2 separate regions of the Homo sapiens genome follow, and region 2 is linked to region 1. The links are contacts of gene promoters, found by promoter capture Hi-C in human tissues and cell types (Jung and others, 2019). All regions are on one chromosome and are shown on one strand. Each heading gives the region's core, a stretch centred on a gene start or on the middle of the fragment in contact. The rest is flanking DNA. Distances are from core to core; before and after follow the strand shown. Region 1 holds the start of KCNF1 (potassium voltage-gated channel modifier subfamily F member 1). Region 2 has its middle 37 kb from the start of KCNF1.

Region 1 (5,420 bases), core at 2,656-5,155:
CGTCTCTCCCATCTTCTGGTGGCTGCCGGCAGTCCCTGCTGTACCATGGCTTGTGGCAGCATCACTCCAACCTCTGCCTGTGTTGCCACGTGGTGTTCCCCCTGTGTATCTGTGTCTCTTCTTACAAGGACACCAGTGATTGGATTTAGGGCCCACCCTACTCCAGGGTGATCTCATCTTCACTTACATCTGCAAAGACCCAACTTCCAAATCAGGTCACATTCACAGGGGCCGGGTTTAAGGCTTGAGCATATCTTTTGAGAGGACACAGTTGAACCCACAGCCTCATACCACCAGTAAGTGTCAGAGCTTGGCAAGGCCTCCACCTGTAGCCTCTCTGTTCACTATGCTATTCAACAAATGACAACGTGTGAATATGTAAGTCCATGTCACCCATTTAACAGCCCGGGAAACTGAGGGGCACATGAATGCCAGCCTTCTGCTCCCCCATCTAAGGATACAGGGCTGATCCTCACAGAGCAGGATTTGTGTCTCTGCCTCTTCTCTTCCCTCCCCTGGCTTCTGGCTGCAGGCTGGTCTCGCACCTCCAGCCTTGACCTGCTATTTACAGCTGTTTCTTTCTCTTGCCCCTGTTGTCATTGGGCACTTGCTCTCCTGTGGGCTGTGTGCGGACATTCTCTCTGCTGGGCTTTGCATCTGCTGCCCCTCCCCTCCCACTTCTGCACCAGACCAGCTTTCTCCCCACTGGGCCTGGGATTTGCTGAATGGACTTGGAGTCAGAGTCAGCCTCTGGCTGCTATGACCTGATTCAAGCCGTATTTATTTTTCCACGTCTGATATTCTCTGTTATTTTCTAATACTCAATACGTTAATTTCACAGCCAGCTACTGAGCCACGACCTAAAGTATGAAGTGCTGACTTGTGGTCCAGATGCCTCCAGGGCCGCTGAGACCCTCCGGGGTCTGTTTCCAGCTGACTCCACCAGCCTCAGGCCTGCCAGCCTCACCTCCAAACCGTGTGGCCCTTTCAGCTGAGCAGGCAGGTGGCACTCAGACCTCCAGGCTCAGCTCACGCACTGGCTCTTCCGGGGGCCTGAGTCTCCAGCTTGTCATCACATCTTTCTAGATTCTAGATTTGTCCGCCTGCCATCCTCTCAGCCTGGGGTCAATAGTGTATTAACTATGATTTCTTATTTTCTGCATTCCTGATGACTGGCAATGTGGCCTCACAGACTGGAGAGACTGCCCCTCCCAGTGGGTGACATCCTTAGAGATTGCGAAAGGCTGGAGCGTATCTTTCACAGGCAAACCCACCAATTCCAGGCCCAGACCCCCAACTTCCCCTCATCAAACTCTCACACACCAAGGCAATATTTCCCTGCCCTAAATCATCCCAGACCAGGGACCAGGCAACTAGAGACCACCTCTGTAGTTCAAAGCCCACCAGAATTATCCCAAGGAGCCAATCCTGGACTCTTTCCTCTGTTCTGCCCTAACTTTTCCCCCAGGAAACCCCAATAGAGGGCCTGGCCTCGTTTTCCCCTCGCTCCTGCTTCTGCCTGGCCACACCTGGAATTTCCTCTGGCGTGTCCTCTTCTCTCAGGACATGTTAGTAATGCGTTCTTTCAATGACATTGATCTCTCTAAATCCCAGCGGTATAATTTTAATGCACCAGCCTCTCCTGGGCCTGCCCAGGTATCTGCAAACTCCCGGGTTCCACAGCACCTTGTATTTCATGACGATACAAAGGAGTAGCTATTGGGGCTCTATCTGCTGAGGGAGATTCATCAGACACCCCGATGCAAACCTGAGTGAGTGAAGGCTGGGCTTCTAGGCAAATGCAGCCCCTCCCTCTTCCAACCAGATGGCCGCCCCTCAGCGCCCCCTGTGGAGAAATTCAGGAAGCACCACTCTTGTATAATACATATACCCCTCTTGTTAAGGTCATTACCCCAAACTGTTAATTATTATTTACAAAAAACATATTATCTACTAGAATATGAACCCTGTCCCCACACCTAGGGTGGTGTGTGTATGTGTGTGTGTGTGCATTTGCACACATGTGCCATAAGAGCTCGATAAATATTTGAATAACTGAGTGAATGAATGGGTATTTAGAAGCCCATTAAGCTCAGACTAGGATGCAATTTGAACTTAACCCTGCAGGTACTCGGACAGCTGATAAGGGGAGTAGCATGCATAAGGATTGGAAGAGGAAGCTGGGGTGTGTGTAGGAGGTGGTGTGTAGCACTGTACTGGGGAGAAGAATAGGCCTCAGAACCCAGCAGGACAATGGTTAAATCCCAGCTCCACAGAGTGATCTCGGCAGGTTACCTGACATCTTGTTTCCTTAGGGGTTGCTGGGAAATTAAATGACAAAAATGCAAAGCACTCAGAGACTGCACTCCGATGCCCATGGAGAATAAGTGGCAACTCTTATTATTACTCAACCTTTCTGAGCCTCGATTTCCTACTCTGTAGTAGCATGTCATTGTCTGATGCTAAATGGAAATGAAGTAAAATTTGTAAAACGAAGTTTCACTAAATAATACTTCATGTGATGTATTCTAATATATTCTGTTTTATGCTAACTCATTAAAGAAAAAAGAATACTGTCAGTGACCCAGTAAATTGATTTCATAATCCATTAACGGACATGTCCTTAAGTTTTAAAAAACCCAGCCTACAGAATACATTTTTAAATAGACTTTATATTTTAGAGCACAATTCAACAGAAAGTACAGAGAATTCCCACATGCCCCCTGTCTCCACAGCTCTCCCCTGCGCATCAACATCTCACACAGGGTGGGACACTTGTCATGGTGGACCACCCCACATGGACACGTCATCATCGCCCAGCACCGAGTTTGCATTAACATTCGCTCCTGGTGGTGAACATTCTATGGATTTTGACCATTGCATAACGACACATATCCGCCATTATGGTACGTTTCACTGCCCTAAAAATCCTCTGCTCTGCCTATTCATTCTTCCCTCCAGAATATTTTTAACACGATCTCGAGGCCATAGATGATATCAGTAATTTGCAGTATTGATGATAGTGGTGAACCGGAGGAGAGAGACACTGTTAGGAAGCTGCTGTAGTGGTTCAGGTGAGTGAGGACAGAAGGACAGCTGTGGCTGCAAAGGCTGGAAGAGAGGAGGGTGTGGGACACTGGTCAGGAAGAGACAGGCCTTGGTCAAGGAGTGAGGAACGGGGAAGCAGGAGCCACTGGACCCTAGGGGTCTGGAAGCTAGTGGCCTTGGTGTGGGACTGCAGAGAGATAGGAGGTGCCAGACGGCAGGGACTTCAAGGCAGAATTGAAATCTGCTGAACAGCAGGCGTCGGTCAGCTGGGACAGCCGGAAAGCTCGGGATCAGGAGGCGGTCAAGCTGAGCTCTGCTCTCATTCCGCCGCGTGACCTTGGGCAAGTCCCTTCCCTTCTACAGGAGGCTGGACTAGATGTCCTCCTTGTACAGCGTTGCGGGGAAGGTGAGACAGTGCCACCAACACAGCAGGGCATTGCTGGGTCGGGGGGATGGGGCAGGAAACGCTTCAAGGATCAGGCAGGATTTTCCTCCCACCAGGAAAAGCCGGCGCGGGTCTAAGGCCGGAGGAGGGACCCAGACATAGGAGTCACCTTCTAAGGGGCTTCCTGGAGCACATTTTCCTGCCCAGCAACAGGCGGCAGCATTCTCTCCCCACTAATCCTCTCCAAACAGCAGTGAGAGAGAATGCCTGCCGCTTCAAGCCAGGTCGCAACCCCTCGGTGACCCGCTGCGCCCGAGGAGGGGCCGGCGGTGCGCGGTGGTGGCGGCGGGCGCGGCAGCTGTGCCCGTCTGCCCAAGGGTTAATCCGTCCCCTGCAGCTGCCGCGCGTGCCTTGCAGAATTTCACCAGAAGAGGGTACAGTTTGAAAAGCTCCTGACGTCAGGCTGGAATTCCTATTGTGTTTAGAAAAGGCTCGGGCAAAGCCAGCCCAAGTTCGCTCTCTGCACACCTCGAGCACCTCGCGGACGGCGTGGGTCCGCCAGCTCCGGGACCTGCCGCCGCTGCCTGCGCGCCCCGGGGCGGAGGACGGTGCCAGCCGCCCACGAGGAGACCCCGCTCCCGCAGGAGGCCGAGCTGAAGCGGCGGAGCGCGCCGCCAGCCAGCCGGGGTGAGTGCCCCGGGCGAGGCCGGCGGCCGCCAAAGCCCCCGCGGGCTCGCCCGGGCGCCCGGATGCCAGCCCCGAGCCCCGCCGCCGGGTGCATGCCTCCCCCGCGGCGCGCCCCCGCAGGCTGCTGCCCGCTGTGACCGCCCTTCCCCGCAGGCGGGCGCCGGCCAGGCTCTCCCCGAGATCAGCGCACGGGTGGCACCCGCCGGACCCCCAGCGGCAGCGGCGGCGGCGGCTGCAGGGGGCGCGGGGCGGAGGCTGCGAGGGCGCGCGCGGGGAGGATGGACGGGTCCGGGGAGCGCAGCCTCCCGGAGCCGGGCAGCCAGAGCTCCGCTGCCAGCGACGACATAGAGATAGTCGTCAACGTGGGGGGCGTGCGGCAGGTGCTGTACGGGGACCTCCTCAGTCAGTACCCTGAGACCCGGCTGGCGGAGCTCATCAACTGCTTGGCTGGGGGCTACGACACCATCTTCTCCCTGTGCGACGACTACGACCCCGGCAAGCGCGAGTTCTACTTTGACAGGGACCCGGACGCCTTCAAGTGTGTCATCGAGGTGTACTATTTCGGGGAGGTCCACATGAAGAAGGGCATCTGCCCCATCTGCTTCAAGAACGAGATGGACTTCTGGAAGGTGGACCTCAAGTTCCTGGACGACTGTTGCAAGAGCCACCTGAGCGAGAAGCGCGAGGAGCTGGAGGAGATCGCGCGCCGCGTGCAGCTCATCCTGGACGACCTGGGCGTGGACGCAGCCGAGGGCCGCTGGCGCCGCTGCCAGAAGTGCGTCTGGAAGTTCCTGGAGAAGCCCGAGTCGTCGTGCCCGGCGCGGGTGGTGGCCGTGCTCTCCTTCCTGCTCATCCTCGTCTCGTCCGTGGTCATGTGCATGGGCACCATCCCCGAGCTGCAGGTGCTGGACGCCGAGGGCAACCGCGTGGAGCACCCGACGCTGGAGAACGTGGAGACGGCGTGCATTGGCTGGTTCACCCTGGAGTACCTGCTGCGCCTCTTCTCGTCACCCAACAAGCTGCACTTCGCGCTGTCCTTCATGAACATTGTGGACGTGCTGGCCATCCTCCCCTTCTACGTGAGCCTCACGCTCACGCACCTGGGTGCCCGCATGATGGAGCTGACCAACGTGCAGCAGGCCGTGCAGGCGCTGCGGATCATGCGCATCGCGCGCATCTTCAAGCTGGCCCGCCACTCCTCGGGCCTGCAGACCCTCACCTATGCCCTCAAGCGCAGCTTCAAGGAACTGGGGCTGCTGCTCATGTACCTGGCAGTGGGTATCTTCGTCTTCTCTGCCCT
Region 2 (5,044 bases), core at 1,353-3,852, 37 kb after region 1:
AAACCTTATAGCACTGACCCTGAAGCCCCCTGGGGTGCCCACCATGCCCTCTACCCTTCGGGGTTAGGATCTGTGGGTATGTGCCCTGCTGGTCTCTTGGCTGGGCAGGGCCAACTGGGCAGCCTTCCTCACAGCCACAGCCACAGCCGTGAGGCTTGGGCCAGGTGCTGGGCCTGAAAGCTCATTGAGCCTCACTGCTTTTCTTGCAAATGGGGGTGCCACGGAGGCCCAGAGAGCAAGGGGGTGGTCCCAGGTAAGAAGACAATCAGAGCAGAGTGTGCGCAGCCCCAGAACCTGGCCCATCTGCATCTCTTTCCTCTGAGCCCTGACCAGAGGCAACGTCCCGTGAGCAGACAACTGGCCTTTCTTACCTCAGGAACTTTGGAGACAGAGAAATATTTCTAAGCCTTTAAAAGAAAATTCTTAAATCCATATTTATGATTTGCAGTCGCAACTAAAAAAGAATAACACCAACTGTTAGATCAATGGAACTGATTTGGAGGAGGAAATATGTATATATTACAAAAAGCCAGTCATCTCCATTTGCTTCTGAGATTTTGACAAGGAAAGTATTTAATGACTGCACCGAACTCCTGTGACTGATCACATGGAGGCACGGCCCAGCAGCCTGAGTTCAGCTCTCAGCACTCAAATGAGCCAGGAAGAGCAGAACATGCTTCAGTACAAATGACAGAAGCCGGCCGTAGGCAGGCAGCTGGGAACCCCCACCTCCGACACATGTGTGTGTCATTTCTCTCCGCCGTGAGTGCAAAGGAGGAGCCCAGCCTGCCCCGGTGTCCTTCCTGCAGGTCCCTTGGTATGAGGAAGCAGGGGTACTGGGCACCTCGCTCAGAAAAAACTTCCTGAGCTTGTTCTTTCTGATCATAAGCATGACACATGCTTATTACACAAAATGAAAATAATTCATAAAGGTTCAAATAAAAATGTAAATCTAACCACACAGAGACAATGAATCATCGCTCTCGTGTTGGGGAACATCATTCCAGATTTTCCTGGGCACATATGGTTTTATGGGGAGCAGACAATACTCCTGGTCTGCAAGCCAAGAAGGGAAGGGACCCAGCTGAGCTGTGGTCTCCCATGGGAAGCGGGTGGCAGGGGGACCCCTGGCTGGGGGCTACTGGGTGCCCAGCCCCACACTACCTCCTCTGCAGCCACTGCCTCACTTGTTCTCACAACACCCTCTAGGGCATGGATTACTGTCCTCACCTTCATGTCAAGAAATTAACCCCAGATTCTTGGCAGAGTTGGGATTTAAGCCTGGACGGCAGACAGGGAAGCTGCCGTTAGAGGTTGGGAAGGTCCCTGGGGAGGAGTGGGCAGCGGGGGGCTGCTTTGCAGGCACGGAGAGGCCTAGCCAGCCCAGGAGGTCCTCTGCACTGACGCCCCTGTCACAGAACCGAGCCTCTCGGAACACTGCAGCTGCAAGATCAAACCTCAAATTGGGCAGAATAAGTCCTTAAAGATGGTTTTCTCTGGTGATTACACTGGCTGGTGAGCAAACCTTATTAGTAATTAGCTTGCCAAAGATAGCAGCCCCTCAGAGAGCAGAAGACACGGTAATTACTGCAGCCAGCCTTTCTAACTATTTCCAGCAGAAATCAACACCAAGCCCCTGGGACTGCTGGGGACAGTTTTAAATTCTGGAGCGGAGGCCCAGGACTCTGCTGCACATTCTCTGTGTGACCAAGCATGCCTCCCTCTTTGCCATGACCAAGCACATCCCTCTCTTTGAGACTCTTTTCTCTCATCCGTTCAACAGTGATAACAACTCGCCTTCATTACTGCACTTCATTCATAGCTATGTGGCTTCATGCTCATGTGAACTACTAGATGGTGGTGGTGGGGTTGGGCATAGAGGGGCAGCTTTGCTGACATGGAGACGTTAGAGGTGAACCACAGGGGACCCGTCAAGCAGAGGACGAAGGGAGTGCATCTGAGGACGGGGCCTAGTGCGGAGCCACATCAGCAGGGGCCATGCCCTGAAGGCCTGGGGCCTCACTCCTGGAGTATGAGCCTTGTCCTGACAGCTGCCAGGAGTTACTGGATTGTCTAAAGCAGGAATGGACAAGTCAGATAATTGCCGAAAAGGAAAACTCTGAAGATAGGGCACTAATGGCCTGGGAGAGGAGAAATGGACAACAGGAGACCAGTTAGGGGCCATGGCAGGGATTCAGGGGGGCTGTCAAGGGTGTGCAGCCCCCTACAGACCTGCCAGTGGTGACAAGAACAAGGGTGAGGCTGACTGTATCAAGGGCAGAAGGGGACATCATTCGCATGCGGCCTTTGAGGATGTGTTGGGGTGCCTGGTGTGGAGTTGGTGGGGAGGACACCGGGAGAGGAAACGAGGTGGGAACCGGGGAGGGCAAGGGATTGGGCTGCTCTGCTGAGAGGAGTGAGGTCTCTGGTCAACGGGCAATGCCAGCCCCCAAGAGTCTTCTTTGGGTTGTTGTGAGAAGGAAGAGGCTTGGGCATGGCATGGCTACAGGTAAGGGGCCATCCGGCACACTCAGAGCACACTGGGGCTGGGGTAGATGGTGGCACCTGTCTTGGCTGGAGGAGTTGGGAGGGCTGGGGAAGGGACGTGTGATCTCCTCTCCGATAAACCTGGACGAGATGCCAAGTATAACACAGAGGCTGGCGGCGGGGCCTCCTCCTGTTCCCGGTGGATCAACTCATTGTGGGACTTTGGGCAACTTTCATTGCTGTTTGGGTTCCGGCTTCCAGAGCTGGCTCTCAATGACCTCGAGGTCCATGACTCTGGCTCAGTGGAATGGCCCAGGCTTAGTGATAACTTCTGAGCCTGGAGGACCTGGGGCAGATGGATGGGCTGGGCAGGCTCTCTCTTAGTGCTTGCCTGAGTTCCTCCAGGAAGGTAGAAGTGCCCACACTCTGTAAGTGAGGAAACCAGGGTCCAGGCAGACATGCCCAAGGCTGCCCCATGGTGAGTGGCAGAGCTGGGCTTCCGCTCAGGCCTGCCTGGCCCCACTGCTCACACCCTCCCTACACAGGAGCATCATGAGAACCAGTGCACCCACCTGGAAAGGAAGACCTTGCATTTGATTTGTTTAAAATGTAAAACTATATCATGTGATTTTCCAGGTGAAATAGATCTTTCAAGGACTCCTCCGCTACTTCTGCCTTGCCTAAGCTTATGTCCCTTCTATTAGAAGCAGAGATCAGCTTGTCAAGACCAGGGGAAAGTGATTTTAAAATTCCCAGATTGGCTCCTGCCTCAAATACACACAGCTTTTATTATGACCTAGCCAAAAAGAAAAAATGTAGTAAAAGTGCTAATAGATTACAACATGAAGTGACCAAGTCTATTCAAATGACCACTTTAGCCAGTGGGCTCAGAGATGGTGTCTGAAAATGGAATTGCAATGTAGAACCTTAAATATCTCATGAATCCCCCTAGTTTGTGCTTGGCTCATAAACACTGCACAAATAACATTGGCTGGATGGCTGGGTGGATGGATGGATGGATGGATGGATAAGTGAATGGATGAATGGATGGATAGGTATACGTTTGGGTGGCTGGGTGGCTGGGTGGATGGATGGATGGATGGGTAAAGGGATGGGTGGATGGATGGATAAGTGGAGAAATGGATGGGTGGGTGAGTGGGTGAATGTCTGTATGGATGGATAGATGAGTGTGGGTGGGTGGATGTATATATGGATGGATGGATGTTTGGGTAGATGGGTGAGTGGGTGGATGGATGGATGGATGGATGGTTGGATGGATGGATGAACACATAAAATGCCCTCCCTCTCTTCTTTCAACTATCTAAATTCAAGATCTAATATGGTTTGGTTCTGTGTCCCCACCCAAATCTCATCTTGAATTGTAATCCCCATGTGTCAGGAGAGGAACCTGGTGGGAGGTGATTGGATCATGGGGGTGGTTTCCCCCATGCTGTTCTCATGATAGTGAGTTCTCATGAGATCTGGTGGTTTAAATGTGTGTTCCTACTCACTCCCTCTTTCTCCTGCCATGTAGGATGTGCTTTGCTTCCTCTTCGTTTTCTGCCGTAATTTTAAGTTTCTTGAGGCCTCTCCAGCCATGCAGATCTGTAAGTCAATTAAATCTCTTTTCTTCATAAATTACTCAGTCTCTGGTAGTTGTTTTTTTTTTTTTTTGTTTGTTTTGTTTTTTTTTTTTTTTTGCAACAGAGTCTCGCTGTGTCACCCAGGCTGGAGTACAGTGGCGCGATCTCGGCTCACTGCAAGCTCTGCCTCCCAAGTTCACGCCATTCTCCTGCCTCAGCCTCGCAAGCAGCTGGGACTACAGGTGCCCGCCACCACGCCTGGCTAATTTTGTGTGTGTGTGTGTGTGTGTGTGTGTGTGTGTTTTTAGCAGAGACTGGGTTTCACCATGTTAGCCAGGATGGTCTTGATCTCCTGACTTTGTGATCCGCCCGCCTCGGCCTCCCAAAGTGCTAGGATTACAGGCTTAGGTAGTTCTTTATAGCAGTGTGAGAATGGACTAACACAACATCTAACCTCAGAGATCCATCCTCTTCCAGGAAACCCTTCCCGACTATTCTGTCCCACAAAACTGTCTCCCACATGAACAATCCTCTCTTCTATATCACCCCTCTCAGAGGAGCAGATTACCTATGGTTGCTCTTTGGAAAAGACCCCAACATAGTTGGAGTCTTGTTTTCTGTACTAGACCATGAGCTCCCAGAGGTTGAGGCCCTATCTGTGTCTCTGCCTCCCTACCGCACTTGGCCAGGGTCTCACATGGTGTCTGCTGGGTAAGTGAGGAGTGAGGGGTGGGCACTGCTGCCACCTGGACTGGGTTGGTGAAATGCCACCGCAGCAGGGGAGATGGGAACAAGGCAATGTGTCCCAGTCATACTGCACTCAGCCAGTCAGCTGCCATGGAATCTCCCTCCTCAGGAGCCTCCCTGTACTGGATACCAGGATAAAGAAACTTTATTTGCCAAGAAGCGGCATCTCAGTCTCTTCTAGCCTGGTTTCCTCAGGGCAATTCATTGTCTTTTGGGTAAGTGCTCAG

What was found. Contacts are between HindIII fragments. The study calls those that stand out against the background at their distance.
Region 2: a contact is called between a fragment that was not itself captured here and the fragment with the promoter of KCNF1 in region 1, in 1 of the 25 tissues and cell types used here (IMR-90 fibroblasts).

The regions. Positions count from the first base shown.
Region 1 is chr2:10,908,029-10,913,448 of GRCh38, forward strand. KCNF1 (potassium voltage-gated channel modifier subfamily F member 1) reads left to right here and starts at 3,906. Exons shown (of 1, transcript NM_002236.5): 1 at 3,906-5,420. The coding sequence starts at 4,399. RefSeq lists an enhancer at 951-1,451. The HindIII fragment of the contact is 13,350 bases long and covers 1-5,420 here.
Region 2 is chr2:10,946,396-10,951,439 of GRCh38, forward strand. No RefSeq gene overlaps it. Among named protein-coding and RNA genes, the nearest start is that of KCNF1, 37 kb to the left of the region's middle. The HindIII fragment of the contact is 4,058 bases long and covers 574-4,631 here.